7 separate regions of the Homo sapiens genome follow, and all the other regions are linked to region 7. The links are contacts of gene promoters, found by promoter capture Hi-C in blood cells and fetal thymus (Javierre and others, 2016). All regions are on one chromosome and are shown on one strand. The core of a region is centred on a gene start or on the middle of the fragment in contact, and the rest is flanking DNA. Distances in the headings are between cores, read along the strand shown. Region 1 holds the start of FABP5 (fatty acid binding protein 5). Region 2 overlaps SNX16 (sorting nexin 16). Region 3 holds the start of ZC2HC1A (zinc finger C2HC-type containing 1A). Region 4 has its middle 4.3 kb from the start of SLC10A5. Region 5 holds the start of PKIA (cAMP-dependent protein kinase inhibitor alpha). Region 6 overlaps ZC2HC1A (zinc finger C2HC-type containing 1A). Region 7 holds the start of MRPS28 (mitochondrial ribosomal protein S28).

Region 1 (3,842 bases), core at 1,257-3,756, 1.3 Mb after region 7:
AAAACTAAGCTTCAGAGATATTAAGTAAAATTGCATCTGTCTTGAAAAAGGCAGTTTTCTAAGCTACTGGAAGAAGAGTTGCTAGTAATTCTTGATTCTTCAGTCATTTTCATCCATAAGAATAATGTGTTATTATCTTCCAGTGTGAAGGAAAACATGATATAACACCTGTATTACCTATGTGCTGTTACTAAAAATAATGAACAGCACAGTTACTAATGTTCGTAAGGACAGGTTAGGATAAAACTATTGTTTCTTGTTTCCTATGTTGTAATTAATCACAATCAAGTGATGATTCTCCTCCTTCTTTCCAAGAAGAAATACTCAACCATCTCCATAAAGTTATATGAGACTTCAGTGAAATTTGATTTCACAACATTTTTGGTTTTACACCTCATAATGGGTGCAAGGTAAGTAGCCTAGAATAGGCCTTTACTTAGCGGGTGAAGGCAGTACTTAACTGCTTTTTCACAGCTTAAAATCCATTACCATTACTCTGGAGAAGGAAAGAATCTGAGTAGTAGAGCTTAAGGGGCATTAGAAATAATCTACTCCAATCATACATCTGTATATGCATCAGATGTGGTGTCTGAAAACAAGACATTCAATGTGTTTCCCTGAGGAACAGAGCAATCACCATGCCCTTTTTTGTTCCACAAGATACAATAACGGTTATTATTCTGGCCATATAGCTTTGTTTTGTCTGTATGTTTTAACACAAAAGAATTATTTCCACTCATCACATCAGAGATTGTGTTTAAACTTAAGTTTTAAGTAAGGCCTTGGGATTAAAGGCTATTTCTTAAGTACCTAAGTATCTAGTACTCCAGTGCCATTATCTTTTTGATATTTCTGTAACATGTTAGATTATGATCATTTAAAAATTAGTATCAGAGTGCTGCGTCCTATTATTACTACATATAGTCTATACAGAAATGGATAAGACATGTTGAAATAGCACATGAAGAGCTCAAGTTCAAACACACAGGCAGCCCTAAGGAGCTGCCTGAAGTGCCTGGTAGCCAGGGCTTCTCATCACTGAGTAAATGATGCACTCAGCTTCCCTCAGAACACGAATATTTTCTGAGCAGTAGGGCCTCGGGTGTGGGACATGCAGACCCTTATTGGGAAAACAATTGAGTGTTAAATGGTACCACAAGGAAGACTGGTGTGACCCTAAACTGAGGGCAGGGACTTGAAATGAAAGGGATGCAGTTCAGGGGAGTACATGTCCTGCAGCATGTTGGGAGATAGCAAACCAACCTCAGATTTCAATTTTGTCAAGGATGATACAAGAACTAGTAGTGTCTCGGTGACTGTGGTCTACTCAGAGCTCCATCACAGCTACCCTGAGCCCAAGGCAGTCAGGTGTGGTCTGATTTCATAAGGTCTTCAGTGAGACGGACCTGGATGGGGATTCTGGTTCTACCACTGTGAGAACTATCTTTGCCCTATTTTCTCTTTTGAAAAATTGGGATAACACCCCTAGCAAAAATATAGTGGAGACCAATGTCTATAAAGTGCCCAGGAAGCACATCTAGCACTTAGTAGCTACTCAATAAATGCACATTACCGCTATCGAAACGGCCAGCCTGTGTGGCAACTTCCTCACCTCAGTCCATCTGACTTCCAACAGGCACCCGGGAGCACCAAGTAATAAATTGTGAAGAGTACACTTTGAAACGTATCATGTTCTACGCACATGTGTAGGGTATTATTATAGTTCAAGAGAAAGAGGGAACCCGCTGGTGTCTGAGAAGAAACCCGCTGGTGTCTGAGAAGAAACGGTGAAGGGTGCACTACGAAGGGAATATAAACTAATCAAACATTCTTGAATGGCAATGACAGTCACTAAAGTTGACACTTCCTGCAGTCTTTTAGTTTAGAAACCACACTTCCCGAGACGTCCCCCATCCCAACAGGGATAAAATCCTCTAGCTCAACTCAGGTATATCCCCACTATTGGGCCAGGGAGACCTGCGGATGGCGAGAGCAGGTTCTCTTAGGAGGGTGTGGATTGTGAGCTTGTGCGCTGGCGAGGAGCAGAAGGTCAGGGAGGCACCGTAGTTAATGAATCAATAAACCAAACAGCCGATCAATCACTTCCTGCAGTCCGAGTCCGGCGAGGGCTAATCGATTGGTCCGGGTATTTTGAAAGGAAAAACGGCGGTGGATATGTTGTCAAACGGAGGGGTGCAGGAGAGGCGGGGCCAGGCCTCCAGGTGACCCCTCTGGCTTCCTGGGCCTGCAGAGGCGCCGAAACGTGCAGGCGCCGGCGTCCATGAGGCGTGGGGCGCGCCGGGCGAGTCCCTGCTTGCAGGAGGCGCCCGAGAGGCCGTCGCGTACCCTGGCAAGAGGAGCTGGTTAGCACCTCCCGACCCCGAGAAGGCCCAGGGGGCGCCCGGCGGGCGGGGCGGGGACCGGGCGAGGCCCGCCTCCCATTGGCCGCATAGCGCCGCCCAGCGCGGGCCGCCGTTATAAAGCAGCCGCCGGCGCCGGGTGCCTCACAGCACGCTGCCACGCCGACGCAGACCCCTCTCTGCACGCCAGCCCGCCCGCACCCACCATGGCCACAGTTCAGCAGCTGGAAGGAAGATGGCGCCTGGTGGACAGCAAAGGCTTTGATGAATACATGAAGGAGCTAGGTGAGGCACCCGGCCTGGCAGCGCCTGCAACGTGGCGTGTTGTGCGGTCGTCTGTCCCTAGGTCCCCGTCAGCGTGCCAGATTCTGGGGCAGGAGATGCTCGGCGGCCTACCCCCATCCCCTCCCATCTTCCCCACCACGCGGCCGTTGGGTGCAGCGCGCGCAGCACCACGCGGGCAGGCGGCGAGGAGCAGGGAGCGTGCGCGCCTCTTGCCCGCCCGCGGGCCGCAAGATTCCGGAGGTGGTCCACCCCGTGGTCCACCTACCTCTGCTTCTTTCCCTTCGCCCAAACGGCAGCCCTTCCGCATTGCTTCCTGTCCTTTAGCGCGCGCACCCGTCACCTCACGCTGCACTTCTTTCGACCCCCTCCAGGCGACCCTGTATTTCCCTTTTTTCCCCCTTTACTCATCCTTCCCCTTCCTGCCACCATTCTGTCTCTCCCATTTACCCCATCGTGGCAGCACCCACTCCCCTTTCCCTCCCTGTCGCATCTTTTGTTCCCTGTGGCGCGCAGGTCACCCTCCGTTTTCTTCATGGGGACGCGGTGCTGGCGCGCAGTTTCCCGCAGAAATCCTGTGGAGGGGTCTGAGTGGCGCTACAGCTTCAGCTTGCATTCCTCTGTCAGCCCCGTCTCCCCCAGGTCCTCTGCTCGCCCTTACCAGTTGAGCCGAACCCTTTGGATTGGTACCCCATGGAACACCAGGGCCCCCGAGAAGCGTGGCGCTGGCGGTGCCGACCTGCTGCTGGCACTGCCGGGCCGGGGCGCCGCAGTGGGCGGGTGGCCTGTGGGAGGAGCGCAATGAGGCCTGGGGGTGGCCGTGTGTTGCCATCCTGGCCTCTGCCACTTGAGGGTGAGGAGGAAGGAGGCAGTGGGCTTTGCTGGAAAACCGTAACAGAAACTGCCTGGCCCTCCTGCGGCTAACTGCATGCAAGATGGGTGTGGCCCTGCAGAAGGCAGATGACTTCTTGAAGCGTTCCGAGGGAGAATGAATCTCAGTAGTAAGATTCATTTCTCACTCAAAACAGTGCTTCATTATAAATTACTGTCCTTTTCTATGCCAGTGACAGATTGCATGCTGATTGAGACACTGGATAAATTGCAAACAAAAATGGACCTTTGTCACAGGCCACTAGGAAGTGAGATGGAGTTAGCATAGCATGGATCCTCTCTGGAAGGGAGCTTCCAGCCCTAAGGGAT
Region 2 (4,239 bases), core at 785-3,284, 1.8 Mb after region 7:
TGGGAAAGACCTGCCCCCATTGTTCAATTACCTCCCACTGGGTCCCTCCCACAACATGTGGGAATTCAAGATGAGATTTGGGTGGGGACACATTCAAACCATATCATTCCACCCCTGGCCCCTCCCAAATCTCATGTCCTCACATTTCAAAACTAATAGTGCCTTCCAGACAGTCCCCCAAAGACTTAACTCATTTCAGCATTAACTCAAAAGTCCACAGTCCAAATTCTTATACGAGACAAGAAGTCCCTTCCGTCTATGAGCCTATAAAATCAAAAGCAAGCTAGTTACTTACTAGATACAATGAGGGTACAGGCATTGGGTAAATACAAGCATCCCAAATGGGAGAAATTGGCTAAAACAAAGGGGCTACAGGCCCAATGCAAGTCTGAAATCCAGCAGGGTAGTCAAATCTTAAAGCTCCAAAATACTTTCCTTTGACTCCATGTCTAGTTCATGTCTGGGTCCTGCTCATGCAAGAGGTGGGCTCCCATGGCCTTGGGCAGCTCCACCCCTGGGGCTTTGCAGGATATAGCCCTCCTCCTTCCTGGCTGCTTTTATGAGCCGTGGCTTTTCCAGGTGCATGGTGCAAGCTGTTGGTGGATCTACCTTTCTAGGACCTGGAGGATGATGGCCCTCCTCTCACAGCTCCACTAGACAGTGCCCCAGTAGGGACTCTGTATGGGGCTCTGACCCCACATTTCCCTTCCACACAGCCCTAGCAGCAGTTTTCCATGAGGGCCCTGCCCCTACAGCAAACTTCTGCCTGGGCATCCAGGCATTTCCATACATCATCTGAAATCTAGGCAGAGGTTCCCAAACCTCAATTCTTGACTTCTGTGCACTCACAGGCTCAACACTATGTGGCAGCTGCCAAGGCTTGGGGATTACACCCTCTGAAGTCACGGCCTGAGCTCTATGTTGGCCCCTGTCAGCCATGGCTGGAGCGGCTGGGACGCAGGGCACCAAGCCTCTAGGCTGCACATAGCACAGGGACCCTGGGCCCAGTCCACAAAACCACGTTTTCCTCCTACGCCTTTGGGCTTGTGATGGGAGGGGCTGCCATGAAGACCTCTCATATGCCCTGGAGACATCTTCCCCATTGTCTTGGGGATTAACATTGGGTTCCTTATTACTTATGCAAATTTCTACAGCCAGCTTGAATTTCTCCTCAGAAAATGGGATTTTACTTTCTATTGCACTGTCAGGCTGCAAATTTTCCAAACTTTTATGCTGTGCTTCCGTTATAAAACTGAATGCCTTTAGTAGCACCCAAGTCACCTCTTGAATGCTTTGCTGCTTAGAAATTTCTTCCGCCAGATACCCTAAATCATCCCTCTCAAGTTCAAAGTTCCAGAAATCTCTAGGGCAGGGGCAAAATGCCGCCAATCTCTTTGCTAAACCTAACAAGAATTACCTTTTCTCCATTTCCCAACAAGTTCCTCATCTCCAACTAAGACTACCTCAGCCTGGACTGTAGAAAGAGGTTTATTTGACTTACAGTTCCACATGGCTGGGAGGCCTCACAATCATGATGGAAGGTGAAAGGCAAGTCTCACATGCTGGCAGACAAGAGAGGACAGCTTGTGCAGGGAGACTCCCGCTTTTAAAACCATCAGATCTTGTGAGACTTATTCACTATCACAAGAACAGTATGGGAAAGACCTGCCCCAATGATTGCCCCTTGTCCCTCATCTGAGACAAGGCAAGTCCCTTTTGCCTATCAGCTTGTAAAATCAAAAGCAAGTTAGCTATACTTCCTAATTACCTCCCACCAGGTCTCTCCCACAACACATGGGAATTAAATGAGATTTAGGTGGGGACACAGCCAAACCATATCAGTGAGCAAGAAATGAAACATTACCAATCAAAGAGGTCCATAGCATGCTTCCTTCCCAATTCTACTCACTACACATCCTAGTCAATTTTTGTCTTTAAACAACCTTTTTAAAGACTAGACACCTTATATATTATCAGATCAAGAGTGAGTCCTAATACTTTTTTCAGTTATGAGAGCAATTCAAAAGAATATATCTAGAAAAAATTATTTTACAAACCTAAGATTCTCAAGTTTGTATCTCCAGCTTATACCTCTCCCTTAAACTCAGCTTATATGTATACACACACATTACATATGTATGTGTACACATTAACACATGTAACATCTCCATTTCAATGTTGAACAGACATATCAAATCTAGCATGTCTAAAAACAAATTTTGATCATCCCTCAAAACCTGTCATTTAATTAAATGGCAGCCATATCTTCCCATTGTTTAGGCCAAAACTTTTGAAGTCACCTTTGACCTCTCTTTCTCCCACACTCCACTTCCAAATCATTAGGAAATATTGCCGGTTCTACTTTTAAAACAAATCCAGAACCTGATCACTTCTCAGGACTTCCTCCACCACCCCAGTCCACACTACCATCATGTTTCCCTTGGATTACTAAAAGAACCTACTAACTGCTTCCTGCTTTGACTGTCCCCCATCTCGACCAAACCAGTCTCAATTCAGTAGCCAGAATGAACTTTTTAAAACATTGTCAGATCACATGACTCTTCTTTTAAAAACCTTTTAAAAGATTCTCATCTCATGCAGAGTAAAATCCAAAGTCTTCACAGTGCCTCCTTCCCTATGTGATCTGTGTGCCACACTTCCCTGCCTGTCATCTCATTCCCTACACCTCCCACAGCTTACTCTGCTGTCAGCCACAAGGATCTTTGTAGTTGTCCCATCTGTGTTGAAAACACATTCTCATGGCTCATTCCCTGTTAGCACTAACATCTTTTTGTGAGGCCATGACTGATAGTGCTATTTAAATCCCAACCCCAGATTTGGGGAAACTCCCTGTCTTCCTTCTCTGTTTTATTTCTCTCTATAGTGCTTATCACCATGTGACATATCAGGCGTCTTATTATTTACTTACTTATCATGCTTTCATTCAAATTGCTGTACCACTATTACCCAGAACAGTGCCTGAGGCATAATAGGTAATTAAAAAAATGTTGAGTTAATAAATAAATGAATATGACTAATTTCATATCTGTCATTTACTTCCTCCTCTCCAGTCTCTTGAAATGCTTTACATAACACCACCTTGTATTTGGCCAAATACTTGCATCTTCACACATATCATCTGTCTTAGTCTGTTAGGTCTGTTATAACAAAATACCATAAATTTGGTAGCTTGTAAACAAAGAAATTTATTTCTCAAAGTTCTAAAGTCTGAGAAGTCCAAGATCAAGACAGTAACAGATTTGGTATCTGGAGAGGGCCTACTTTCTGGTTTATAGATGGTGCCTTATAGCTATGTCCTCAGATGTGTAAAGGACAAAAAGCTCTCTGGGGCCTCTTTTTAAGGGTCCTAATCCTATTTATGGGGGCTCTGCTCCCATGACCTACTGGCTTCCAAAAGCTCCATCTCTTAATACCATCACCTTGAAGGTTAGGTTTCAACATATGAATTTTGAAGGAACGCACATTCAGACCATAGTATCAACTCAATAAATGCCTATTTCTTAATTCAGGAAATTGGCCATCAGTTTATATTTTCTAAAAATTTTCTAAAAAGAGAGAGAGAGACAGAGTTCCCTGAAGATTTCCTATATCACAGTCTTATGATAATTTTAAAGACTGCCTCTTCATAAATTATCTCAACAATTTTTCCTTGGAGGTCCTCCCATCCTGTCATAAATTTACAGCATGAAACATTGAAGTAAACATTAAACTTTACTAAAAGAACAAAGTCTTACCAAAAAAGTAAACCTTTTGAGTTAATAAGAGAGTTGAGCAAGGTTGCTGGATATGTAAACATAAAAGGACAAATTATATAAAATAGCAGTAAATAGAAAACAAAAATAGATGTCTCTCACAAGAACATCAAACAACATCCATATCCTGAAATAAATCTAACCAACAGATGTAAGAACCCTGCACCAAAAACAACAAAACATTACTAGAAAAAAATGACTTAAGTAAATGGATTAGGTTCATAGATTTGAAAACTCAGTAAAGATGTCAGTTCTCCCCAGATTAATCTATAGATCTAACAAAATCTCAATGCAAAGGGTGAAGAATAGCCAAGGCCATCCTGAAGAAAAAAGCTAAAGTACATACACTGCTACATATCAAGACCTATTATAAGACTTTATTAATTAAGACAGTGTGAAATTAGTAAAGGATGAAAAAATAGAACACAGAAGCAGACCCATGCATTTATGGTCACATGATTTATGA
Region 3 (4,406 bases), core at 1,642-4,141, 1.4 Mb before region 7:
AGTTTTAAGGGAAATATTTTCTTATGTTTTTGATGAAAATTATCATTTTCTTATGATTACCAAATGTATGAATTATTTTTATATGCTAAATTGTGGTAGGTTATTCCTCTTCTGGTCATGGAAGGAAGAAATGTCCTACATAGTGGAGGTGATAAACTGAGTTCTCACCGAGACTCAGAATCTCATTTAGTTGTGCTCTGCAAATGATATGAATGAGAACCAATGGCTTTCTCTAAAAGGGGACTTGAACTTCGTGTGGGATTTAAGAGACTGGAGCTTTGAAACAAGAAGCTATATGCAGCTTGCTCAGCTTTTTGGGATGTGCAGAATAGATGTGGATCTGCTTAAGGGAATGGTGGTTGAAAGCAATATAATGCAAAGTGGAAAGAATCAAGGTATGATGTAATAAAACACAGATACAATATCTATTTCAGTTAAGTACTAGTTTTGTGATCTTGACCAAGTCAGAAACATCTCTGAAAGTTTGTTTTCCTTTTTGTATGATAAGGAGGTCAGAAGATCTCGAATTCTTATTGATCTATAAATGTTATTTTCAGTTAACAAGATCACATGGCAGGTAGAAAAATTATGTACAGGTAAGTGCTTAAAAACATGAGAAGAAGCTGAGTTTCATTCATTTGAGTAACTGGCTAGTGATAAAATGGACTTGAAGCATAGAAGGTACTCAACAAACATTTGTTGAATGAATGCATGCCGAAAAATGGATTAGACTGGAGAGGAAGTAATGTCATGATACAGTGCCAAGACAAGACTCTCAGGCTAGGTATGTAGGCGGCAGAGGAAAGAACTTATTGAAGGCAGATAGGAAGAAGTCCTCTTTACTCAGGGGTCAGAATCAGGGAAAAGCTGCAGGAGCCAGGGTAGCTGTAGCGTAAAAGTTATGAAGAGACCAAAAGCATAAAAGTTATGAAGATACCTGTAGGGAAGACTAGCAATCATGTTTTAGAGAATTAAGATTCACAATAGAAATGCCTACTCAAATATATGTTAAACAACATGTCTGAACGCTTGGGTTTACACTTGAGGCAGCTATAATAAAAGGCAAGGCAAGGAAAGGGAGTGAGGAGCCCAATCAAATCACCATAGGCTTTAGAATTTAACAGACAAGAGTGTAGCCAAGCTCTACCATCCACTAATAATACAAATATTGACAAAATATTAATTGCTCTGAGACATCTAGAAAATGAACATTTTAATTCTGATAAATGAAGATTGTAGTATCTACTTTGTAGATTTCTTTTGAAGATTTGTGAATATATGAAAATGGCCTAAAACATGCCTCACATGATTTATTCTTTAATGCTATTTTTATTATTTTTAATGTTACTGTAGATTTTATGTCGAATAAGGTATCAGCCAACTCAATATTCGTCTTGCCTTCAGTGAAAGAACTTGTAATTTGTAAAATAATGGCTTCCTTATTTTTGTATTTTCTTCTGTGTGCTTTTTTTTCTCCTTAATGCTCTTTTAAAAGGCCTTCCCTCCCAACCAAAAATTCTACCTTTGCCTTAGTAGCACTAAGGAAGAAAAAGGACCTTTCCGCAGCACCCAGTCTAGAGTAGCTTATTGCCTGCAAGGCTATGGGTTGGCCAAGGAGGCCCAGGATCTCAGAGAAGCAGAAGAGCCAGGGGAACCAGGGAAGGGCGGAGGGAGTCATTGAGGCATGGTTGAAGTGGTCTTTACATGGCTCCACACAACAGATGGACTCTACCACATTCAAATGCACTTGGAGCACCTTCTCAGTAAGAGATGATGCCCCCTCAAGTGTTTGCTTGTTTAAACATACCTTCATGTGAGTGGAGAGTAGGAGGAATCCTGCTTCCTGAAGGTAACTGATTTCATAGTAGATGAAGTTAGATATGAAGTTAAACTCTTCAATTAAACAGATTAACAATAACATTAATCCGAGGTTTGTTATGGACAACACATTAATACTGGTAACTTGCCAGTAGATACGCTATAGTCAGCAAACAGTACAGCTTGTTTACGATTGCTAAATCAAATTTTCAAAGAAATGTAGTTCTGGTAATTGTAAGCAAAACCGTTAAAATGGTCTGAGTTAGTTTTGAAGTTACTTTCATCTTCAGGAGGTTTTGAACTCTGTTAGAGACGGGCGGGCCTCATTCTGTCAGGTTGTAGGTTAATTCCCCAACTCAAACTTCCCCGATCAAACATTGTCAGGCCAGGCGACTGTTTTGGTTTATGGATGATAAAGTATAGGGCCAAGGTAGGCCAAGAGTAGAAGACAGAGGGAGGGCTGGGTTTCACTTCTAATTTTTGGCCCAAGCTTTCATGGTGAGGAAACTGTTTTCAAGGGCTTAGAGCAATCGCAGTTCCACAATCGCAGATAGAAAGTATGATTTCTCTGGAAAAAAAGTGTCTTAACCTATGAAGCTGTGTGTGAAGATCAAGTGTAGGGGATACGCTGAGGTCAAGTCATGCGACCAAAGACCGGAAAACGGAGATTGCTGCATGCAAGCGTGCTGGGCGTTTGTTTGGTTTGCTTGCCTGCTTAAAGTATCCACTGGGAGGGATGGCGGCTAGAAGTCAGAGGCATTGACTGATTGAGGAACTGGTGAAGCGGAGCCCATGAGGTGCTGAGGTACTCTAAATAGGAGGATAAGGTATGAGGCAAAACAAGGCTGGAGTCAAACAAAGGCGCCGTTGCATCGCAGATTGCAACCTGAAGCGGCTCCCGGCTCCCTGGAGAGTAACCCGGAGAGACGGACAGGGGTGGCAGCCAGGAGGAGACCGCAGGAACCTCGCCTCCGCCGCGGCCCCGCCCCCACGGATCCCCGCCCCCGCAGTTGCGGAACCAATGGGAGCTCGGAATGTTAGCGGGTGGGAGGTGCGGCTGGGTTGCTACAGCCAGAGCTGGGCGGTGGCGGGCGCTGCTGAAGGAGTCTCGCTGAGCTCGAGGAGGTGGCGCGATGGAGGGACTGGAAGGTGAGGCGATGAAGGGATGAGGGCAGGACGGCTAGAGCGGGCCCGAAACAGCTGGGGACCCTGGACACCAGTAGCAGGAAGGCGAGGGCTGGTTCGGTGCGGCGGACCTCGCCGCGTCCCGCCGCGCCTCCGGAGGCTGGGGCCGAAGGGAACCGGACAGTCCCCGATGCGGTGGAGCTAACGCTACCAGGCTGCCCCGCCTCAGACGGTCTTCAACTGGGCTTTCCCGCCCGGAGCCAGATCCTGCCCCTGGCAAGACGCCTGCACGTCTCTTCCTACCATTTTCTGATCTTGCTTGACTCCTGAGTGCCCTTTTAGTGATCCCAGTCTCTGGCCAGATTTTGTTTTCCTTGTACTGGACTCTCTCCATTATTGTCCACGGCCTTAACACCAACAGGCCACTTTGTGCTGCAGCCCCGGGGTGTGTCTCCAGCCTCGAGCTCCTGACATTCCTTGGCCGATTTCCCTAGGTAACCGGCTTTTTACATTTCGACAGCATCTTCTGTCGGAGGGATGTCAGAGCATCTCCTAAGGAAGTGTCACTGGCCAGCTTTAGAGCCGGTACAATAGATTACCCGGAGGATTTGATGACTTATTCACGGCCGCTGTGTGAGGAAGAGCCTGTATTGGTTCCTTATCTTTGGGTTTATCTTTGTACTGTAACCATGACTCCAGATTTTGCTTTGTTCCCAGTTCTTTCACTTTTTCTCTATTCTGTTTACCCATTTTATCCTGTGTAATGAAAGCATTCACCTAAAAACAAAGGAAGGACAAAAACCACAATAACTAGCATTGGCAACAACAGTTTCAAGATTTTTTAATTTGTTATGATGAAGAACAAACCTTCAGAATTGAAAGATCCTATTGTCTTGATTTAGCTCCTTTCCCCCGTCTCCTAGTTTACACGGATTCAGTTGGAATTAAGAATGAGCAGAAGCTTTTGAGTCTTGTGTATTGTTGCATGCCAGGGAGTAAAATATTCTACATTGTGTGATGAAGTGCAAAGTGGTAGCCGGTAACTTTTTCAGTCACCTATTCACCAAAAAGCAGATGTAATAACATGAGTAGAAGTTTATTTCGTGCTTTTGCTCTGATAAATGATTCTGATAATTTTCCGTTTGTGGACAGCTGCAGTATGCTATGGCCTAATGAAGGTCTTGTTTTTTGCTTATGTGTTTTTGGAAGATAATTCAAGTTTCCATGAAATAAGGAATTGTAATGATAGTACAGTATATTTTACTTTCAAGATACTTTTGTATCTTGGTGGGATTAAAGCATGGGTTATGGAATTCTCATGAGATTATCATATATAATATGATAAGGTTTTATTACATATTATCTATAAAGTGTTTTGAACAGTTTGCAGATTTTTATTATTTTATTCAACATTTGTTATTAAGACAAAGATCATCATCTGATTTTTCACTTATGTATCCTAG
Region 4 (3,972 bases), core at 1,219-3,718, 1.7 Mb after region 7:
AAGATGTCCTAGCTACAACTGGACCAGGAAAGTAAGTTAGTTATTTGGCTCTTTGCTTAGGAAGTTACTGTTTCTGTTTGTTTAATCAAAAGACAAAATGTCACCAATATATTTCAAATGAAATGTCTTAGAGATGAGTAATTTGGACTGGACTCAATTCTCACACCTCACAAGGACCAATAAACATCTTTAATCCAAAAAGAGTGATGCCTTAGGTATCCGGTTTGGATGTCTATCAAATGATACTTTATTTTCTTAGAAAAAAAAAAAAGGCTTCTGAGGCTAGTTTTTCGGTTCTTCATTGCCAATCTTCTTAAAATAAAAATATTGCCAACCGCATGCTGACAAGTGCTCATTCGTAACCAACTAATATTTCCAAAGTTTTAACAGAAAAGTCATCGGTCATCTAAGTTTATGTAAATGAATGTGGTTTCAGTGACTTGAAAAAACTGCTAAAATCAGCATAAACAATTTGAAGTAAAATAAACTAAATATCAAATATCCCTTCAAATGAAAACCTTACAAGCTTCCTATGTCAGGTGAGCAGGAAGTCCAGTTTTTCCAAGAGGCCTCACCTCAACAGCTACTTCACATTGGTTCTCAGGTAACTCACTCAGTATTTTTCAGTCCAAAGAGGCCGTTCTGCTTCCAAATGCCTTACCGAAAGTGAAGTGAAAATCTGCCGGTGCACAGGGAAGTCTTAGTGTTCAGGCTCGATTATAGTGGGGCTGGAAACTGGTCTCACAAATCCAAAGGATCTTTTCTCTGATGCTGTGAAGGTAGTTCACATGGCTGCAGAGACCTCAGTACAGGATGCATGGCCCTTGAGTTCCCAAAGGGGCATTTTTTAAAACTACAGTCCCATCTGCAGCCATTGTTCCCAAACCTAAGAATATCTGCTGTGCCCAGGTGGTTGTCGGGGGCAGGGGACAGCAGCACAAACTCTGCTTCCTGGCATGATGTCCAGCTCCTCACTCTTCCAACCTTCCCTAAGGGGAGTTCCCTCTTGGAGGCCTTTGGTATCCTTTCCTGTCAGCTGACTCCCATCTATGAGAGAGGTTGTAATTACGCTGAACCTCAGAATGAAAGAGAGGTGAGATCCAATGCCCCTGACACCTCCCCAGACAGCTGAGTGTACACAAGAGAGTTCTAGGGAAGGGTGGCCCTGTGAAGCCACAAAGTGGTCTGGTCATCCTTCCCAGTGGGCAATAGGTGCTTCCTTGTTCTGTATTTGTACAATAAAGAGGGGCCATAGGAATTCCTTCCCCAGAAATTGTGGGCATCTTGCCAACTACACTTAGTCTTTGGAGATGACTTCTTTTTAAATAACCACTCTCTTCACTAAAAAATAATTCAGGTTCCACATGCGAAGACGTTCTTGGTTATAATAATTATTTAAGTGGACTTTGATTTAAATGATCAAATATAAATACACCATGGCAGCTGTTCAGGGGTGGAGTGTCCAAGGATATCTAATAAGATCTCATGTTTGATATAACAGATTGGAGTTGCATATATTGGTTAAGACTTTGACATACCCTTATAAGGCCAACAGCTTTCCAAGATATAAAAATATATATCATAAAATTGTTATTCTTGGAAGAGTGTATCATAGAATCATCTCTTAAGAGCTGGAAAGAAACTTTTTTAAAAATTGGCATAACCATTCTATCTCTGGATCGTTATTCTATCTTATAGAATCGTGGCTGTGGAAAATAGTTGGTATGAACTCAACTGATTAGTCAGTCTGCTTTATGCCTCTCATTCTTATTTTTTTAAAAAGGAATAACTTGGGTCACCCCATCCCTATCCATATTTTTGGACAAGTTTTACTATGTAAAATCTGTCCTCCTTGATACATCTATTAAAGAAATAAAATATACTCCAAATTCCATCCATGCCCTTGCAACTGCTTTATAAGATCATTTAAATATGCATAATGTAACAAAAATAATAATAGGGCTTACCATGTGTCAGGCATTCTTATGAGGACCTTGCTCATATTAATTCACTTAATCCTCACAATAATACCACGAGGTAGGTACTACCATTATCGCCATTTTCAGCATGAATTTGGGCATAGAGAAATCAAGTAACTTGACCAAAATGTTCCCCAGCTGGTAAGATGATGGAGCTAGAAGTGCAGCCCAAGAGGTCAGGAGTTCAAGACCAGCCTGGCCAACATGGCGAAACCAGATACAAAAATACAAAAATCTCTACCCAAAATACAAAAATTAGCTGGGCATTGTGGCAGTCACCTGTAATCCCAGCTACTCAGGAGGCTGAGGCAGGAGAATTGCTTGAACCTGGAAGGCAGAAGTTGCAGTGAGTGGAGATCATGCCACTGTACTCCAGCCTGGGTAACAGAGTGAGCCTCCGTCCCCCCGCCCAAAAAAAAAAAAGAAAAAAAAAAAAAACAAGTCAGCCAGGCACGGTGGCTCAGGCCTGTAATCCCAGCACTTTGGGAGGCCGAGGTGGGCGGATCACCTGAGGTTGGGCGTTTGAGACCAGCCTGACCAACATGGAGAAACCCCATCTCTACTAAAAATACAAAATTAGCCGGGTATGGTGGCGCATGCCTGTTGTCCCAGCTACTCAGGAGACTGAGGCAGGAATCGCTTGAACCTGGGAGGTGGAGGTTGTGGTGAGCCAAGATCGCACCATTGCACTCCAGCCTGGGCAACAAGAGCAAAACTCTGTCTCAGAAAAACAAAACAAAACAAACAAACAAACAAAAAACCCAAAACATTATGTAAGTTAAATTTGTACAAATGTAATTCTATTTTAAACCTATAGTGGATATTTCAGTTTAAAGGAGTAAAATATTCTACATACACAATTATCACTTTATAAACCAAATAAACATCTATCATGTCTATTTGGTTTATATCAGATTTTATACAAATTTTGGTAGTCATATACTGGATTTGGTGGCATTTAAAGAAAAAAGAACCTTGGTTATCTTATCAACTGGCAAAGTAAACAAAAATTCTCTAATTCTATGATCAAGATGGTGAATAGTACTGATAGAAAATGTTGAAAGTTTTAGGCTCCATACATAGTTATACGATTGCTATTTCAAACTAGCAGCAGATCTACCAGGGTTGAAAGTTAAAACTGATAAAACAATAGCACTTACTATGTCCCAGGCACTCTTCCAAGCACATTACATGTATACTCTCACTTAATTCCTAGGACAATCTATGGAGTTGACACCATTAGCTTCATTTGTTAAATGAGAAAACTGGACTATAAGAAGATCAAAGAATTTGCCATAAGGCTAGGAAATAGGGAAAGCAGGATTATTTAGAGTGATATTTCCTATTCTCGATCCCACACTTTCTTGCACAAGATCGTAGACTTGCCCTAGATAATAAAAATTTTCACTGAAGATTAAAAGGAGGTTTTTGAAAAGCACACTATTTATTTGGACACTAGTCTGTGCTTCAACACATTATTTGAATAAGCACACAGAAGATACTGTGTTAGATGTGATAGGGAATATCAAAATGAATAAACATAGTTATTATGCTCAAAGACTTAGAGCAAAATAGGAAAATTAAAACAGGACACAAATAGTCATAAAACAAGCCAGGTTAGCTGGAATGAACAATACTCATAACATACTAAGTCATTCTGTTTGGGTAAAAGACTATGTGTAACGAGGTGAGAGAGGAGATATAATGAAACTGGGAAACTGGCTGGGCGTGGTGGCTCAAGCCTGTAATCCTAGCACTCTGGGAGGCTGAGGCACATGAATCACAAGGTCAGGAGTTCAAGACCAACCTGGCCAAGATGGTGAAACCCCGTTTCTACTAAAAACACAAAAATTAGCTGGGAGTGGTGGCAGGCGCCTGTAATCCCAGCTACTGGTGAGGCTGAGGCAGGAGAATCACTTGAACCTGGGAGGCGGAGGTTGCAGTGAGCCGAGATCACACCACTGCACTCCAGACTGTGTGACAAAGTGAGACT
Region 5 (3,989 bases), core at 1,387-3,886, 1.5 Mb before region 7:
GAAACCTGACAAACACTGCCTCAGCCAGACAATCAAGGTCAACACATCACCAGTCATAAATCACATCGGTACTATAGCACCTTGATATGATGTGAGGAAAAGGGACTTTACCTCTTTCTTTCTCCTGCCAATAGTTCGCAACTCCAGTCTTATCATAAGAAAAGCATCAGACAAATTGCAACAGTGAGGCCTTCCAGCAAATACTTGACCACTACTCCTCAAAACTGTCAAGGTCATCAAAAACAAGAAAAACTATCACAGCTAAGAGGAGCTTAAGGGGACATGACAACTAAATTTAGTGTGGTATCCTGGATGGATGCCTGGAACAGATTTAAGGATATTAGGTAAAAACCAGGGAAACTTAAATGTAGTTAGACTTTATTTATAGTTAGTAATAATGTATCAGTATACATTCATTGATTGTAACCCAATGATATGGTTCAGATTTGTGTCCCTACCCAAATCTCATGTCAAATTGTAATCCCCAATTTTGGAGGAGGGGCCTAGTGGGAGGTGACTTGATCATGGGGGAGGACTTCCCCCTTGGCTTTCTGGTGGTAGTGAGTTCTCATGACATCTGGTTGTTTAAAAGTGTGTAGCACCTCCCCCTTCTCTTTCTCCTGCTCCAGCCATGTAGGCCCTGCCTGCTTCCCCTTTGCCTTCCACCATGATTATAGGTTTCCTGAGACCTCCCCAATCATGCTTCCTGTACAGCCTACAGAACCACCAGCCCTTCTTTATAAATTACCCAATCTCAGGTAGTTCTTTATAGCAATGCCAGAATTACACCAAGGTACCTTACTATTGTATGATGTCAATAGGAGACACTGGGAATGGGATATATGGGAACACCCTGTATTATTTCTTCAATTTTTCTGGACACCAAAGCTGAAAAATATAGTCTATTAAATAAAAAAAGTAGTGATGATTTGATTATAACATCAGTGTAGTGATAGAGATATCTATAAAAACAGCAATAAGGAATTAGCTGTTGTTTCTATTGGAAACAAAGTCCCAGGTACTCCTAACATTCTTGTGGTTTGTTGCCTACATTATGTTTAAAGGACATGCTAAATGCTAAATTTCAGTTAGAAGTTAGTGAAACTAAAAATGAGATTTTTCCCATTATACTTAATCTGTATAAAAGGAGTATATGAATAGAATTCCATTTATACAGATTAAGAATCTCCTGCTCTATGGTAATATTAACGGGCTAATGTTATGAAAGTGAGTCTCAGAGCGATGAATTAAGCTGTTCTAGCTTTCAAAGAGCATATATTCTATGACCAAGAATTCTAACTAAGTTTTGTTGGAAAGCTGTTGGCTACATTATCACCTAACTTTGGGACTGATAGATGGATGGAAACATCTCATTTAGCAAAGGTGCTTCCCTGGCCTTGTGCAATTGCACTGTTTAGGTTGCTGGACAAATCCATAGTGTAAAGCTGGCCTGTATCAAGTGACGGTCAATTCAAACAGCAAGGCAAGTTAAAAGAGGGAACTCCATTCCACAGAACCCTAGTGTCAAGGAACCTCCCGACTGGAAAATGACTCAACAGCTAGGCGGAAACCCTGGCTCAGCTACAAAGAGAGCAAATTTAGTCCCATTTTTCCTTAAACATTCAACCCTCAAACCTGAAGAGATTTGGGAAAGAAGCAAAACGGGAGGGTGGGGGAGAGAGAACAGTCTTGTTAACAGCTAGTGTTAATTTAAAAAGAGAAGGAAAGGGCTTATATGAATACATGCTTATTTCATTCCCAAAGCAAATTTTCATAAATCCTTAGGGAAAGAGAGATAGTCATTTGCTAATGTAGACTCTGCTTTTTGATTCCCAAATGTTACAGCTGTCACCACAACAGTTTGCCCAATTATGTGGCAGGGAGGGGAGGGGGTCCAGAGCAAAGGAAGTAGGAGGAAGAGATGTTAGAGGGAACATCTGTGCACAAGTGCACCATAAACACAACAAAATCATGGGGCCACCCCACTGTTTCTTTGAGCGCTTTCTCTGGTTGGCCCCACTTCTCCAGTCTTTTAGGAGATTCCCGTTCTATTACGTAGGTGAGAGGGCGAAAGGTTCTAGCTTTCAAAATTGTGAGTGGTTTGGCTGTGTGCATACGTGTGTGTGCGCGCGTGTGTGCGTGTGTGTGTGTGTTTGCGTGTGTGTCTGTTGGCGGGGGCGGGGGTGATGGAGAGAGCTATGAAGGGCTTAGAAAGCTTCATTACCAATTTAAAATGTTTTTGTAGTGCTTGAATGTTTATCTTAAAAGACAATTCCTGCTCTCAAATTCAGCCAAATGAACAATGCTGATAAGGAAGATGAAGAGGGTGGGAAACCCACAGGGGCAAATGGAACAGTCCATGCAGCCGGGGTGACGGGGGAGCGCTCGGAGGAAGGACGCTATGCAGAGAAAGCCCCCCTGGCTCTTCTCTCTCAATCCATAATCCAGCGATGCTGCAGCTGTAAAAGCATTAATAGAAAATCAATCCACAACCTCGCGGGGCAGCGATCGTCGAGCGCCGTTTCCAGGCTGCCTTCCCTGGGGTCGGGAGCGGCCCCGCTCCCCCCGTGGCTGGCGCGGAATGTGGTGATCCGTCCCGGGGCGGGGATGACTTCATGCAGCCGGAGCTCCGCGGCGGGAGCGGAGGCTGCTGCTGGCAGGTGGGGCGCGGGCCGGCGCGAGCTGACCGAGCACTCGGCGGGCGCGGCGGGACTGCGGCCCGTGGCGGCGTGCGCGGGGACCTGCGCTGACTAGGTCCGGGGAAGGTAAGCAGCCCGGCACCGGTGCGCCCTGGCCGCACTGCGTGGAGCTTTCCGCTTGGTTAATAATGGGGTTTGCAGCACGGAGGGAAGAAGGGGAGAACCCCGCTGCATTCTGCAATGAGAAAAGGAGCAACAACTAGGATGGAAATGTTGGGCGGCCAAGTGCAGAGGTTGGAGGAGCAGTGTTACTGGGCAAACAAAGAAGGCGTTCTTGCCTCTATACTCTTTTGAACGTGATCTACCATTTCAGTGCCAGATTCGCGTAGACAGTGAAGAGGACTCAAAATTTAAAATAATTTGAGTTACTCTTTTGCTTTCTGTGCCTTTTACCTTCGCTTGAGTATTTTGAGGATTTGGAGCAGTAGGTCCCTGGCAGCAGCCTGAGGTAATCAGAAATCGTCCCTCTTCCTGTAGTCCTTGGTCCTCTCCCTTTCCAGTTATCAGAATGGGTCTGTGCCCCTCTCAATGGCAAAACACCTGCTTCAAGACTGAACCTTTAGAAAGAGCCTCTATCTGGAGGGGAAACTTCTCTTATCTCCTGGAGTTCAGCTTGGGTTGAGCAGCACTTGACATCGCTTCTTCCTTCAATTGCCATTTTCTCTGTCAATCATTTCATTGATCTTTTTCGGAGATGCTGTGCCCATTCACAGACCAACTCTCGTCAGCTCTTATCCACCACCTGGGTTCCATGACTGATTTTGTCAAGGTCCCAAAAAGGGCATTGCCTCACACAGATTTCTTATTCGGTATTCTCCCTGTATACTGTTACCTGTGTCCTTCCCCCAAATGCATGGAATGAAATATCCTGCTTGTGGCCCTGTACCAACATGTTATCCCATTAACTCCCTTCGCTGTAGTCACTGTGGCTACTTGAAAGCTAGAGAGGACAGATAGAATCTACTGGAGTGTGAGGGATGTTCCCTATGCATAGGCATAGGTAGAAGTAAAAATGTGAATGCCAGTCCATCCAGTTTTTCTTGAAGCAATTTTAGTCCAGTTGGATTTTGAGACAGCTAGCTGTTAAGATTTGGGACAAATCCTTTCCAAAAGGCAGAGGAGTCCGTTTGCCTCTAGGATTCCTCAAGAACCTCAAAAGAGTTTCCAGTGAGGTTTTCCTCGTAGGCAGTCAGAAAGCCAATGGAGCTGCCCAATCTAAGCCTCTGGTTGAGTATCCTCTAGTTTGTCTTGCCATTTGCAGGTTCCTATCCCTCGTCCTAGGATTTTCCC
Region 6 (4,041 bases), core at 523-3,022, 1.3 Mb before region 7:
CTACCTATTTCATAGGATTATTAGGATAAATAAATTTCTATGGGCAAAATAATTAGAATTGTACTTGACATGGAGTAAGCACTATTATATAAATGTTAACTTATAGTGGCAACAACAGTAGTAATAGTATTAGCATCAGCTATCTAAATGTTTATATGAATTGTACTTTTTTTCTCATAACCTTTCTATAAGTGATCATTTTATAAATGATGAGACTCAGACTTGCTGTCACAAAGCTGTCAGTAGCATTAGCATTTGAATCTAAATTCATTTGAATTCCCAAGCCTCTGCTTTTAGTGTTATATCATCATCATTTAGTTTTCTAACCCTTCTTTGATTCTTAAAGTTTCAAAATGGAGACTCATGGATGATCCAACCAGAAGTCCCTCTGATTTCGGATAGCCCAGGCTGTGCAGTTGGTAAAATTAAATCTTTAAAGGGAATATTATATTAACTCATTTATTTTAGTTGCTGCTTTTTAGAACTTTCATAAGTTGAATATTATTCTTTAATGTGACTAGCAAAAAAATTCTTTTTTTAACTACATCGTATATGCCTAGAATAATGAAACTTGTTTGTTTATTTAACCATTATCCGTAAGCATTTATCAGAATATATGTTTTGAGGGAAATATAAATTTAAACTGTTTTTAAAAATGTATCTTTCAGAATGATTACCTTATAAATTTCATGTAAAGCATATATACATATTTTAGTTGATTTTATTTACTATCAGAATAGTATTAGTAAATGCAAAATTATTTGGTTTATCTTTAATATTAACTACTATTTGCTTTCAGATTTAAAATAATTATTGGGACTTTAATCTTTTGAACTTCTCTGAAGCTTCTAAGTATTCTTTCTAGTCATGTGAATAGGTAATTTGAGAAATACATGCTCACTGTTCAATACTTTTCCATTATTTTTCCTCTTTTTTATAGAGCTAATGTCAAACCCCGAAATTCCACACCACCTAGTTTGGCAAGAAATCCTGCCCCAGGTGTGCTTACAAACAAAAGAAAAACATATACTGAGAGCTACATAGCCAGGTATGTTTAGCTCTGCTCTCCCAATAACTAAAATAAAATTGAGTATATGATAGTTTTCCAAGGACCATACACAAAAGTAAGTAACAAGCTATTTATAGAAAACCTGATTTTTTTCTTTTAATCTGGCTTTTAAGTTGTACACCTCTAATGGATTTGGGCAAAGTAAACTGAAAACCTTCTGTAAAGGATTAACCCTTCTACATGCCACTAAGAACGTATGTGATTTATGGGAGGAGGTCAAAATATCCACATTAATAAGAGTTTGGAAGAAGTTGTTCCAAACTTCATGGATGACTTTGAGGGACTTAAGACTTCAGTGGAGGAGGTAACTGCAGATGTACTAGCAAAATAGCAAAAGAACTAGAATCAGAAGGGAAGCCTGCAGATGTCATTGAACTGCTGCAGTCTCACGATAAAACTGGAATGGATGAGGAGTTGTGGTGGCTCACGCCTGTAATCCCAGCACTTTGAGAGGCTGAGGCAGGTGGATCACCTGAGGTCAGGAGTTTGAGACTAGCCTGGCCAACATGGTGAAACCCTGTCTCTACTAAAAGTAGAAAAATTAGCCGGTTGTGGTGTTGCACACCTGTAATCCCAGCTACTCAGGAGGCCGAGGCAGGAGAATTGCTTGAACCTGGGAGGCAGAGGTTGGAGTGAGCTGAGATGGGGCCACTGCACTCCAGCCTCAGTGACAGAGCGAGACTCCATCTCAAAAAAAAAAAAAAAAGGCTGTTATAGTGTATAGTTCATCTAGCATCTATTTTACCTTTATTACTGTTTTTTTTTGTTTTTGTTTTTTTGGTTTGTTTTTTAAGACGGAGTCTCGCTCTGTCGCTCAGGCTGGAGTGCAGTGGCGCAATCTCGGCTCACTGCAAGCTGTGCCTCCCAGGTTCACGCCATTCTCCTGCCTCAGCCTCCCGAGTAGCTGGGACTACAGGCGCCCGCCACCACGCCTGGCTAATTTTTTTGTATTTTTATTAGAGACGGGGTTTCACCATGTTAGCCACGATGGTCTTGATCTCCTGACCTCATGATCCACCCACCTTGGCCTCCCAAAGTGCTGGGATTACAGGTGTGAGCCACCGCACCCGGCCTAGTATGTTTTGTTAATAGATAATAGAGACCTCCCTGTGAGTGCATGCATAAGAGTTTGTTATTTATTGCATCACAATAATTTAATATCATTAAATAATAAAACTAAAATAAATACTAGAAGCATCACCTCACAATCCTTGTGACCAAGGAGAGAGACTTGAAACCTAAGGATCTCTATCTTTCCTCATGGTTGGGTTCTCTTTAGAGATGGGTTTGCAGAAAGGACATCATAAATGTTCATTCTGCTCCCAGTGTAGTAAATTCCTAGCACAAAGAACAGATGGAAAGCGATGTGGTTTGGATTTGTGTCCTGCCCAAATCTCATGTCAAATTGTAACCCTCAACGTTAGAGGAGGGGCCTGGTGATAGGCGATTGGATCATGGGGGTGGACTTCCCCATTGCTGTTCTTGTGATAGTGAGTTCTCAATGTATCTGATTGTTTAAAACTGTATAGTACCTGCCCCTTCTCTTTTTTCCTCCTGCTCCCACCATGTAAGACATGCTTGCTTCCCCTTTGCCTTCTGCTATGAATAAGTTTCCTGAGGCCTCCCCAACCAAGCTTTCTGTACAGCCTGCAGAACTGTGAGTCAGTTAAACCTCTTTTCTTTATAAATTACCCAGTCTCAGGTAGTTCTTTATAGCAATGTGAGAACAGACTAACACAGAAAGCATGGCTGCATTTGGTCATGGTAAATTCTCGTAACACAGATAAATATAATGTTAAAAAAAAATGTTAGAATTTTAGTATTTACTAACAAGGATTTTTTAAAATTTGAACTAGAGGAATATTAAAAACGAGATTAAGCAGGCTAATTGTTATATTTATGTCCTGTTTCTCCAGGGTTATGGGTTGAAAACTACTGATACAAACTTTATCTTTTCATTGTTTCTTTACTTTTTTAGGCCAGATGGGGACTGTGCATCTTCCCTTAATGGTGGAAATATTAAAGGCATTGAAGGACATTCACCTGGAAACTTACCAAAATTCTGCCATGAGTGTGGGACTAAATACCCTGTAGAATGGGCCAAATTTTGCTGTGAATGTGGCATTCGAAGAATGATTCTATGAATAGAATCTCAAAAAAAAAAAAAAGCCAAGTTCAGAGTTTATGATTATTGCTGCTTGGACAGCTAGAGCACATCCTCTAGTTAGTTTGTGCTAAAAATACTCGAAATACCATTTCCAGTTAATTTTGAAGTGTAATCTTTTGGCTATATAATGTGTGTATGTTTATATGTGTACATATACTGTATATAATAAATATCTGATACCCCAGACTGTGTCATTCAAGGAAATATTCACTTATCTGTCAGAAAATAATTTCAAATGGAACAATTAATTTAGGTGTTACTTTTCTGTTGTTGTTAAAGCACGTTAAGTACATTTCCACAAACTCTCATACTCTAGTGCTTAGCCCTTCAAGCTTTAGGATAAGTATAACTTTGAGCAAAAAATTTGGATAAACATTTGTATTATTGGTGCCTATCTTCAGATAGTATCATAGTAGGATAGATGCTGGGAATTTTGTAATTAAAGAGAACAGTTTTAGTTACCATTAGGTATGTTAAGGTCACTCCTGTAGAGCATGTCAACAAATTATTTCATAAATCCGAAAAACTAAGAGAAAAAAAAACCCCTCTATTAGTTACGTAATTTAAACATCTTACTTGTTTTGTAAAAGTGTAATTATGCAATTTCCTTTTCAAATACACAAGACTAAAAATACAAATCTATCTTGTTCTATTTATAACTGATTTTTTTTAGTTCTGTATGTATTCGTTGAACATATTTTTTTACTTCCAATTGTTTTTCCAGATTTCACTTTTCCTCTTTTTCCATAACCCGTGAAGATAGTTTTAATTTGCTAGTTCATTTTTTGCTGTATTTGAAAATGTA
Region 7 (4,198 bases), core at 688-3,187:
ACTCTATGTTTCCAACCTTACTGCACTTAACTCTTATGGCCTTACCTTAAGGATGGATCTAAAATCCATCCCTTAGGTGGCTTCAGGTCAATCATCGCTATTCTGCTAGTATTTTATGACTTCTCCATATATGGTAGAAAGAATAATGCCCCCTCCCCCTACAAAGACATCCACATCCTAATCTCTAGAATTTGTGAATATGTTACCTTCCGTGGCAAAGGAGAATTAACTTTGCAGGTGGAATTAAGATTGCTAATCAGCTGATCTTAAAATAGATTATCTAGGGAGGCCAATGTAATCACAGGGATCTCAAAAGCAGAAGACGGGCGGGGGGGGCGGGGCCGGGCGGGGTCAGCCAGGCCAGGTGGCTCACATCTGTCATCTGTAATCCCAGCACTTTGGGAGGCCAACGCAGGAGGATCACTTGAACCCAGGAGTTCAAGACCAGCCTGGGCAACATGGCAAAACCCCATCTCTACAAAAAAAAACAGAAAAAACAATTAGCCCAGAGTGGTGGTGCACACCTGCGGTCCCAGCTATGAAGCAGGAGGATCACTTGAGCCCAGGGGGTTTAGCAGTGAACTGAGATCATGCCACCACACTCCAGCGTGGGTGACAGAGCGAGACCCTGTCTCAAAAAACAACAAAACAAACAAAAAAATCCAAAAAACAAAAAAGTAGAAAACAGAGGCAGAAAAGACAGGCCAGGAAGAGATTCTCCTAGAAGCTACGGAAAAGAACACAACTTCACCAACACCTTGATTTTAGACCAGTGAGATCCCGTCTGACTTCTCACAACCCTAACAACAACACATTTCCTGTGTTTTACGCCACTAAATTTGTAGTAATTTGTTACAACAGAAAATAATAAACTAATATACCAGGCTTCTTCTAGTCCTTGGATTTCAGAAAAATTTTGACATCAGTAATTGCTACTAAAATGACCCTATAACCCAGGACACTGCCAGTCTTGTGAACTGTTTGGTACTACTCCCTAGGAAGAAAAATACAGAAATTGAGAGTTTATTTGTATATAATTCAATTTCATGTCTGCTGAGTTTAATTATTAAAAACTTAGGCTTGTAATTTTATTTCTTCCATTTCATTTATCTATAAATTTATGGTATTTTACAAAAGTACTGGCTGAGACAAACGGAGATTTTACTTTACTTTTTAAAAAAAGAAGACATTTACAAAAGAGAGGTGAAGCGCTGACAAGTTAAATCACTTGCCCAAGTTCAGAAAGTGATTCATCACCCAGTCATTAAATTAACAAATGTTTATGAAGGGCCTTCTACTCCAGACAGCAAGCTCCATGCTAGAGCTACTGTTCAGAACAAGACCCAGCAGAGCCCTGCCTCTCCGTGTGAGTCCCATTCTCCTTAGCGTCCCAGGAATCGCCCTAGATCGCCTCCCCAGCAGCGCTCCCCGCTGGTTACCTTCCCACCAGCATTCAATCCCAGGAAAACAAGCGCAGTGTGGACAGACCCGGCCCAGTACGCAAATGCCACACAAAAGGACAACGAAAGGAAGAAAAACACCAAGCACAGATTCTAGGGGCCGAGGGCTGAGCCACAACGCACCGCAACTCCGGAAAACTGGGCCCCGGACCTCAGCTCCCCTTCCTAAGCCAGGCTCCGCCCCTATTCCCGACCCCGCCCACCGCGTCGTTGGCGTAATTCCCGCGACTCCCTCTCACCCGCCCGGGCTCCACCTTCTGTAGGGGCTCCACCTTCTGTAGAAGCTCCGAGTGCCGCTCCAACGCGCTCGCGAAACCGCCTGCGCGCGTCTTAGGCTCCTTGGCATTGGAACTACCACTTTCGGATCCACTCTCAGTGCCTACACCCCGAAAGGGCCTGAAGAAGAGAAACACTCGCAGAAAATGGCTCTCGGCAGCCACAGCACGGGTCCGACACAGCGCCGCCATGACTTCTTTACCTCTGACCTTTGACCTCCCCTCCGCAAGCGCGCGGGTCACGGGGCGGAGCTATGAGAGGTCCGCCCCCCGGACGCAGAGCTCTGGAGGCCAACGAGGCGTGTCTTCCTTTCATCTGGGAGTGGCGTGGGGAAGAAGAGACTTAAGCTAAAATTGGTGGGCTAAATAGTTGGAAAGGGGCCTGGTTAAGTTTTGCGTTAGAAGTGCGTTTAACTTGCAGGAATTTCGCCTTCCTGGGCATCCGTTGGACCCCATTGTACTGTAAATTCTGCTAACGCGACGCTCGTTCTCCCGCCCTGCCGTCCCCCCTACATGGCCGCCAGCACTCGAGTTTGGGGTCTTCACTCAAATATGAGGGTCTCCTTGATTACCCTATTTAGAAGTGGAAGCCCAAATGCAGACTCTCTGGCACCTGTTTTTCTTAGTACCATGTAGCACTTTCTAATATGCCACATATTAATATTAAATATTTAATAATATTTAGTGTCTACTCCCAACTTTTTAAACTTTGAAAAGAGGAACTTTGCTGTAGGGTCCCTAGCACCAGGCACAGATTAGGGCTCACCCAACATTTGCCAAACCCTGCATCCAAGTTTGTCCTTTGCCACTTCTGCAGCCAGTCCACTCACGCCACAAAAATAGTTTTTCTGAAATGTTTTGACACCTCTAGATACCTATTATCTAACTTAGGAGTTCAGAAGTTTTGGAATGTCCCTAAGTATTGCACCGCCGTAGGCCCCCACCCTCACTCTGGATTTTCTTTCCCTTTTCTCCTGCAGTGTTAATTCCCAAAATTTACCCACCCTGTTCAAAACAGCCTAACATCATTCTTAAGTGTTTATTAATTAGTTGTCCGTCTATCTTTGACCCAGCAGTTTAATATTAATCCACAGTTAGTTTTATTTTGGGGGCACACACCTTTCCAGTTCATTTGCAAGTACTTCGAGAGAAAGAATTTTTATGATCACAGACCCTATTTTAAGAATGCCTTGACTATGGGTTTTAAGCTTTTCTGATGCTCTCTAATGGTACAGATAGTGTTAAGAACACGAAGTACACTGATCTCAGAATGGTGCACAATTGTATGAATCACATAAAATTATTACTAGCTAACTGTATGGTAGTCCTTACAAATTCATTAAATTCTCCAGGTGAGTTCTCCCTCTTGGCAGTTAAAACTGTTTATCTCCCGAGACTATTAATGGACTCTTGCCTAGAACATTATTTTCTACGGATAGTGCTACTTCCACTTTTTTTCAGGAGAAAGTGTGGTAAATTGTAAAGAGCATGGCCAGTGGTCTTCAAGAACCCTCAGTCTGACTGGGCAGGGTGGCTTACACTTGTAATCCCAGCACTTTGTGAGGTTGAGGAGGGAGGATTGCTTGAGATGAGGAGTCCGAGACCAGCTTGGGCCATAGCAAGAACCAGTCTCTACCAAAAAATAGAAAAATCAGCCTGGGGCAGTGGTGCATGCCTGTAGTCCCGGCTACTTGGGAGGCTGATGGAGGAGGATCACTTGAGCCCAGGAGTTTGAGGCTGCAGTGAGCTATGTTCCTGCCACTTCACTCCAGCATGGGTGAAAAGTGCAAAACTCAAGTATCCGTAAAAACACACCCCTGGCGTGGTGGCTCACACCTGTAATCCCAGCACTTTGGGAGGCCAAGGAGGGCAGATCACCTGAAGTCAGGAGTTCGAGATCAGCCTGGCCAACATGGTGAAACCCTGTCTCTACTAAAAATACAAAAATTAGCTGGGCGTGATGACACATGGCTGTAATCCCATCCACTCAGGAGGCTGAGGCAGGAGAATCACTTGAACCCAGGAGGTGGAGGTTGCAGTGAGCCAAGATCACACCACTGTTCTCCAGCCTGGGTGACAGAGCGAGACTCCAGCTCAAAAAAAAAAAAAAAAAAAAAAAATGAGTAAGTTTGTATCAAATGACTTCAAATTTGGCCTTAGTTCTGTCTTTGGTAGAGGATCAGAAGCATCAAATGAGAGGGACTGTAAAGAACTGAACAAGTCAATAGGGGGATGTCCGCATAACTTTCTCCTTGCCTATACAAGTGCCAAGAGTAGCATCCTCTGTAATAGTGATGTTTTCACATACGCCATCTTAAGGATTCTGATCCTGCTGTAACCACTCCTTGCTTTATTAAATACAGGCCTGGCTGGGCAGCAGTGCACACCTTTAGTCTCAGCTACTCGGGAAGCTGAGGAGGGAACATCGCTTGAGCCCAGAAGTTTAGGGCCAGCCTGGGCAAC

Evidence for each region. Contacts are between HindIII fragments. The CHiCAGO score rates a contact against its expected background, and 5 or more counts as called.
Region 1: the fragment with the promoter of FABP5 here is called in contact with the fragment with the promoter of MRPS28 in region 7 in 2 of 17 cell types (activated CD4 T cells and naive CD8 T cells); the score reaches 7.5 in activated CD4 T cells.
Region 2: a contact is called between a fragment that was not itself captured here and the fragment with the promoter of MRPS28 in region 7, in 1 of 17 cell types (neutrophils). The highest score is 6.7, in neutrophils.
Region 3: a contact is called between the fragment with the promoter of ZC2HC1A here and the fragment with the promoter of MRPS28 in region 7, in 2 of 17 cell types (monocytes and non-activated CD4 T cells). The highest score is 6.9, in monocytes.
Region 4: a contact is called between a fragment that was not itself captured here and the fragment with the promoter of MRPS28 in region 7, in 2 of 17 cell types (naive CD8 T cells and erythroblasts). The highest score is 5.7, in naive CD8 T cells.
Region 5: the fragment with the promoter of PKIA here is called in contact with the fragment with the promoter of MRPS28 in region 7 in 5 of 17 cell types (fetal thymus, total CD4 T cells, total B cells and 2 more); the score reaches 8.8 in fetal thymus.
Region 6: a contact is called between a fragment that was not itself captured here and the fragment with the promoter of MRPS28 in region 7, in 1 of 17 cell types (monocytes). The highest score is 5.4, in monocytes.

The regions. Positions count from the first base shown.
Region 1 is chr8:81,278,030-81,281,871 of GRCh38, forward strand. FABP5 (fatty acid binding protein 5) reads left to right here and starts at 2,507. Exons shown (of 4, transcript NM_001444.3): 1 at 2,507-2,645. The coding sequence starts at 2,567. It overlaps LNMICC (lncRNA associated with lymph node metastasis in cervical cancer), which reads right to left and starts at 3,395. Exons shown (of 2, transcript NR_186603.1): 1 at 3,304-3,395; 2 at 1-2,347. RefSeq lists enhancers at 2,150-2,984, 2,985-3,819 and silencers at 2,176-2,255, 2,266-2,555. The HindIII fragment of the contact is 5,532 bases long and covers 8-3,842 here.
Region 2 is chr8:81,834,261-81,838,499 of GRCh38, forward strand. The region is part of intron 2 of SNX16 (sorting nexin 16); the gene reads right to left. Among named protein-coding and RNA genes, the nearest start is that of SNX16, 5.8 kb to the right of the region's middle. The HindIII fragment of the contact is 7,425 bases long and covers 1-4,239 here.
Region 3 is chr8:78,663,198-78,667,603 of GRCh38, forward strand. It overlaps ZC2HC1A (zinc finger C2HC-type containing 1A), which reads left to right and starts at 2,892. Exons shown (of 9, transcript NM_016010.3): 1 at 2,892-2,967. The coding sequence starts at 2,952. It overlaps LOC105375911 (a long non-coding RNA gene), which reads right to left and starts at 2,782. Exons shown (of 4, transcript XR_007060972.1): 1 at 1,808-2,782. RefSeq lists enhancers at 2,015-2,523, 2,524-3,031, 2,996-3,045 and a silencer at 2,706-2,925. The HindIII fragment of the contact is 1,596 bases long and covers 2,307-3,902 here.
Region 4 is chr8:81,688,746-81,692,717 of GRCh38, forward strand. No RefSeq gene overlaps it. Among named protein-coding and RNA genes, the nearest start is that of SLC10A5, 4.3 kb to the right of the region's middle. The HindIII fragment of the contact is 3,888 bases long and covers 525-3,972 here.
Region 5 is chr8:78,513,704-78,517,692 of GRCh38, forward strand. It overlaps PKIA (cAMP-dependent protein kinase inhibitor alpha), which reads left to right and starts at 2,637. Exons shown (of 4, transcript NM_006823.4): 1 at 2,637-2,765. All of the region lies in intron 2 of LOC105375911 (a long non-coding RNA gene), which reads right to left. RefSeq lists a silencer at 2,582-2,881 and an enhancer at 3,202-3,311. The HindIII fragment of the contact is 11,771 bases long and covers 2,214-3,989 here.
Region 6 is chr8:78,714,281-78,718,321 of GRCh38, forward strand. It overlaps ZC2HC1A (zinc finger C2HC-type containing 1A), which reads left to right. Exons shown (of 9, transcript NM_016010.3): 8 at 941-1,048; 9 at 3,048-4,041. The coding sequence ends at 3,213. It also overlaps a transcript of IL7 not described here. Among named protein-coding and RNA genes, the nearest start is that of ZC2HC1A, 50 kb to the left of the region's middle. The HindIII fragment of the contact is 1,858 bases long and covers 844-2,701 here.
Region 7 is chr8:80,028,322-80,032,519 of GRCh38, forward strand. MRPS28 (mitochondrial ribosomal protein S28) reads right to left here and starts at 1,938. Exons shown (of 3, transcript NM_014018.3): 1 at 1,715-1,938. The coding sequence starts at 1,927. All of the region lies in intron 5 of TPD52-MRPS28 (TPD52-MRPS28 readthrough), which reads right to left. It also overlaps a transcript of TPD52 not described here. RefSeq lists an enhancer at 1,661-2,090. The HindIII fragment of the contact is 3,845 bases long and covers 1-2,941 here.